Regions from separate parts of the Homo sapiens genome. Here region 1 is linked to region 2. Evidence: promoter capture Hi-C in 16 types of primary human blood cells and fetal thymus (Javierre and others, 2016). All regions are on one chromosome and are shown on one strand. Each heading gives the region's core, a stretch centred on a gene start or on the middle of the fragment in contact. The rest is flanking DNA. Distances are from core to core; before and after follow the strand shown. Region 1 overlaps RPL37A (ribosomal protein L37a). Region 2 holds the start of IGFBP2 (insulin like growth factor binding protein 2).

What was found. Contacts are between HindIII fragments. The CHiCAGO score rates a contact against its expected background, and 5 or more counts as called.
Region 1: a fragment that was not itself captured here is called in contact with the fragment with the promoter of IGFBP2 in region 2 in 1 of 17 cell types (fetal thymus); the score reaches 5.2 in fetal thymus.

What each region holds. Positions count from the first base shown.
Region 1 is chr2:216,501,098-216,503,849 of GRCh38, forward strand. RPL37A (ribosomal protein L37a) reads left to right here. Exons shown (of 4, transcript NM_000998.5): 4 at 244-2,752. The coding sequence ends at 307. Among named protein-coding and RNA genes, the nearest start is that of RPL37A, 3.6 kb to the left of the region's middle. The HindIII fragment of the contact is 3,211 bases long and covers 1-2,752 here.
Region 2 is chr2:216,631,925-216,634,669 of GRCh38, forward strand. IGFBP2 (insulin like growth factor binding protein 2) reads left to right here and starts at 1,496. Exons shown (of 4, transcript NM_000597.3): 1 at 1,496-2,041. The coding sequence starts at 1,600. The HindIII fragment of the contact is 7,523 bases long and covers 110-2,745 here.

The sequences.
Region 1 (2,752 bases), core at 253-2,752, 130 kb before region 2:
CATGGCTCTTAAAGGATGCCATCATGTAGTTTAGAAGCCACTAATTTCCGAGGAGTAATCTAATGTTGGTTAGATCTTTGGATTGACTGCAGCAAAGTATTGGTAGAGCAGTCTATCTCAGTATAATTCTTTCTAGGAAAATTTGGGAAGCGACTTTAACACAAAAACGAGGCAGATTTACTTATTTGCCATTTTCTATGTTAACATGCTTAATTATGTTGGAAACTGAATCTTTCTTTCCAGTACCACTTCCGCTGTCACGGTAAAGTCCGCCATCAGAAGACTGAAGGAGTTGAAAGACCAGTAGACGCTCCTCTACTCTTTGAGACATCACTGGCCTATAATAAATGGGTTAATTTATGTAACAAAATTGCCTTGGCTTGTTAACTTTATTAGACATTCTGATGTTTGCATTGTGTAAATACTGTTGTATTGGAAAAGCATGCCAAGATGGATTATTGTAATTCAGTGTCTTTTTTAGTAGTCAAATGGTAAAATGCAGCATAAGAATATAAGTCTTCCAAGTTAGATATGAGTGTTAGCTTTTTATAAGTCTGCTCCTGCCAGTTTGACTTTGAGATACATTGGAGCCAACTGTAAACTTTAGTTTTTAAATTACAGTTAGTTTTTTTGTTTGTTTTTGAGGCGGAGTCTCTGTTACCCAGGCTGGAGTGCAGTATACCAGTCTTGGCCCACTTCAACCTCCACTTCTTAGGTTCAAGCGATTCTCCTGCCTCAGCCTCCTGAGTAGCTGGGATTACAGGCACGCACCACCATACCTGGCTAATTTTTGTATTTTGAGTAGAGATGGAGTTTTCACCACATTGGCCAGGCTGTTCTTGAACTGACCTCAAGCGATCCACCTGCCTTGGCCTTCCAGAGTGCTGGGATTACAGGTGTGAGCCACCACGCCCAGCCTTGCATTTAATATTTTTATAATGTGTCTAGGCTGGGTGCGGTGACTCACGCCTGAAATCCCAGCACTTTGGGTGGCTGAGGCAGGTGGATTACTTGAGGCCAGGAGATTGAGACCAGTGTGGCCAACATAGCAAAAACCCGTCTCGACGAAAAATACAAAAAATAGCTTGGTATGGTGGCACATGCCTGTAATCCCAGCTACTTTGGAGGCTCAGGCACAAGAATCACTTGAACCTACGAGGCGGAGGTTGCAGTGGGCCAGGATCGTGCCACTGCACTTTATTTAGCCAGGACAACACTCTGTCTCCAAAAAAAAGTTTCTGAAGGTAAAAGATATACTAAAGGATATACATATACTGCCTCTTCTATGATGTTTCATTTGACCTACACCATCAGCATCTTCAGGAAACAGTATGAAACTAATTTCACATTAAATGTTGCAAACGTCTGCAATTCTCCAGTTTTTAGTTTGCACGTAAGGATTCGTAGGATTGATTTCAGATTGACAGATGGTTGTAGTAACAAAAAAATGAATTGCCTTGGAGAATTCGAGTTATTTTAGGCCTGCCTTTGACACTTTTATGCACTTAATTCACTGCCAATTTAGTCTAACTCCTCAACCATCTGTGGTATGGACTTCTCAGTCCTCCTAATTGGTATGTCTTTTATCTATCCCAGAGTCAGTAGTCCTTTAAGGATGCAAATTTAATTCGATAAGAATGTGGATTTACTTCATCTTTAGGACAGAGTAAAAACCTTTATTTCACTTGGTCTGACCCCTATCTTCTATAACTTGTTTTTTTGCTCATTACTGGCCTTTGCACGGATGTCTCCCTTCACCTGTACCTCCTGCATTGCCTCTGGCAGAAACATCGCTACCCCAGGAGAATACTTCACTGGGTCAGGCATTTGCTAGATCCATAGCAGTAACTCATCTGTGGATCTCATTTGTGTCACAAAATGGTACTCCTACTGATTTTGTAATGTGAAGCAAGTACTGTGGGTCAGTAGGGGTAGGACCAGGAGTGACAAGTCAGGATTTTCAGGCTTCATAGGAATGACACAGCTCTCCAGGTGAATCTCCTGGAGAATTCTCCATAGGATCTCCAGGTGAGTGACCAGGATTTCATGTAAGCATAGGGAATTGAATGAGCATTAGATGGTCTAATGCTGCGGTTAAGAACACCAACTTAGCCAAACTGCCTAGATAGTTGGGTGACTTGGGTTAAGTGACTTAACCTCTCTGCTTCAGTTTCCTGTATAATTCTTGGTAGTAGAATGGAGTATATGCTGGGTGTTTGGATTATTAATTTGGAGTCTTACAAAGCTGCTATGTTACATGATTAGGCATGGAAAACTTCGGTTTTTATAATCAGTGAAGTACTGCTTTTTGTTTGTTTTCTGAGAGAGTGTCTGTCACCCAGGCTGAAGTGCAGTGGCATGATCTCAGTTCACTGCAGCCTCTACCTCCCGGGTTCAAGCAGTTCTCGTGCCTCAGCCTCCGAAGTAGCTGGGATTACAGGCTTATGCCACAAAGCTCAGCTAGTTTTTGTATTTTTTATTTTTAGTAGAGATGGGCTTTCGCCATGTTGACCAGGCTGGTCTCAAACTCCCAGGCTCAACTGATAACGTCTGCCTTGGCCTCCCAAAGTGCTGGGATTCTGTAAGCCACCTCACCCAGCCATGTATTGCTTTTTTATGACAGTTAAAAGAGGAAAGGGCGGGGGACAGTTTACAGACCAGTGAAAGTGCTGAGATAAATATTTTTATACCTAAGGAAATAGTGATTTTCCCAAGATGATAGGGAGGCAGGTGATGTAGATAGGGCTGAAGA
Region 2 (2,745 bases), core at 246-2,745:
GAATTACAGGTGTGAGCCACCGCGCCCGGCCCCATTTCTGTGTTTTTGCTTCAGGTGGTCCCTCTGCCTGTGCCCTTGCTAACCGCCCATTTCCTCTGGTAGAATTACAAGCTTCAATTTCAGCTCCGACTCACCCAAGAAACTCCCCTTTCCTCAACCACCACATCACCTCTCTACCAAAATATTTCTTTTCTTCAAAGCCTCTGATAAACATTTATTTATTTATTTTTTATCTTACCAAAGTCTTTCCCGATAACTCTTCCCAGCTTGGCGTCTTAAGACCAGGTACTTGCCTTCCTGGAGGCATCTAGGTCACCTTCAGAGCCAGGTGGCCATTGGGTTAACTAGCTGTTGAACTGAATCAAACAGGCTCTGAGCCTTGAAGTCAGAAAGAGCCAGAGTGGAGGGGTCTGGGGGGAAGAGGGGCGCTGAGGTATAGGGAGATGAAACCTGCGGTGGAGGCAGCTTAATGGTCCACCTGTCACCCAAGGAATCTCTCTGACAGGGGTCTTTGTTAGGGTCACACCCCAGGAGATGGTTGATTATGGCTGAGTCCAGCCTGGAATGATGGGGGTTGGGGGCAGCTTGGGTAGATGACTCAGTAAATCAAACAGAACAATGAAAGGAGGTCATGCTTGTCCATCTGCATTATTGAAGACAGCCATAAATGGCCTTACCCCAGAGCGGGTCTGTCACACCTGGAGAGCTGATCTGACCTCTCCAAGACCCCTGCAACTGAGTGTTCTGGGATCTGTCCTGCAACAAGTGCCTCGAGATTTGTAGGTGGGGGCCCAGGGTGCTAAGGGATTATTTTAGCGGGCGGAGAAGGGAGGGGGTCTGCAGACGAAGGGGGCAGGTTTTGCGGGGCACTTAGGGTTCTCATAGGTTGTAGTCACGAGCTCCCAGGTTTGGAAAACTGCAATAGTCACTAAGACCATTCGGGGCTGTTTGGGTCTAGCTTGGTCTAGACGGGTCTGAAACTCCGCAGGACCCACCCAACAAGAAGTCATTGTTCCAAGCCACGTGTCAGTGGTGGGTGATACCCCAGGATGGAAGGAGTTGGTATGAGCCGACTGAAATCTACTTGAAGGTCAAAACGGAGCCTTATGTCTTTTGTGTTCCCCAGCGGTTAGCCCAGTGCCGGCCACAGGGGAAGCGCGCAAACGAAGTCCTCGCGAACTGAACTGAGAGCAGACAAAAGCACGCGCTCTTCTCCACCGCCACGCCGGTCCTACCCAAACCCGCGAGTTATCCGTATTCTCCTTCAGGAGTCATAGTCAGGCCAGAAGAGTGCGGAGGGACGGGGCCCGGGAAGAGCAGGGAACCCCCAGAGCCCGCAGCCAACGCGGAGGTGGGCGAGCGGGCGTGCGCGCACTCACTTGCCGGCGCGAGGGAGTGTCGGGGGGGAAGGGAGTGGTCTCCAAAAGGGGGAGGGGAGAAGGCAGGGGGCGGGGAGAAGCCGGCCCTTTAGGACCCGGCTGCGGCGGCGAGGGAGGAGGAAGAAGCGGAGGAGGCGGCTCCCGCGCTCGCAGGGCCGTGCCACCTGCCCGCCCGCCCGCTCGCTCGCTCGCCCGCCGCGCCGCGCTGCCGACCGCCAGCATGCTGCCGAGAGTGGGCTGCCCCGCGCTGCCGCTGCCGCCGCCGCCGCTGCTGCCGCTGCTGCTGCTGCTACTGGGCGCGAGTGGCGGCGGCGGCGGGGCGCGCGCGGAGGTGCTGTTCCGCTGCCCGCCCTGCACACCCGAGCGCCTGGCCGCCTGCGGGCCCCCGCCGGTTGCGCCGCCCGCCGCGGTGGCCGCAGTGGCCGGAGGCGCCCGCATGCCATGCGCGGAGCTCGTCCGGGAGCCGGGCTGCGGCTGCTGCTCGGTGTGCGCCCGGCTGGAGGGCGAGGCGTGCGGCGTCTACACCCCGCGCTGCGGCCAGGGGCTGCGCTGCTATCCCCACCCGGGCTCCGAGCTGCCCCTGCAGGCGCTGGTCATGGGCGAGGGCACTTGTGAGAAGCGCCGGGACGCCGAGTATGGCGCCAGCCCGGAGCAGGTTGCAGGTAACGCGGTCTGGAACAAGTAGTTGGGAGAAACTTGGAGGGCAGCGGAGAAGCCCGACGGGCGGCTGGACCTTACGGACGGTTTTAGGGGCGGCAGAGCCGAGACCTTGGACCAAATCAAGGGGGACTGTTGCTAGCGGGACGCGGAAGTCAGGCCCGGGGAGGGGAACTGGAGTTAGAGCAAGTGGAAGAGCCCTGGCGACTCATTTGGTGGGGATGAATGGGGAGAGGAAAGGCATCCCTGCTGCCATAGTTTTACCCGCGTGGAACGGACCCAGACTTCTATTCTGGAGGAGGGATTTGCTGAGAAGGGGGCCGGTGGTCAGATCCATGGGAGTAGGAACTCGAATCTTATTTGGGGCACTGCTTGAGGACCCAAGGGTCCTGGTGGGATCGCTGCTGGGAGGCGGAGGCTGCGGGGTGCCAGTGACACCAGGAACCTTGGAAGAGGAGAGGGAGCTAGGAGGAGGCACCGGCGTCCCAAGGGGCCCTTCCTTCTACTGGGGTTGTGAGTTGGAAAGAAAGGACTTGGTACTTTGTAGGATGAGTCGCTTAGGAGAAAAATGAAAACCACCACTACTATTTCTCCATAGGGAACGAGCAGGGCTCTTGCTACCACGTTGAATGGAAAAATAAAAGGGAGGCATTTGGTAGGCGAGGGGTCTCCTAGCAGCTGAATCAATGTAACTTAAGCCCGATCGCCG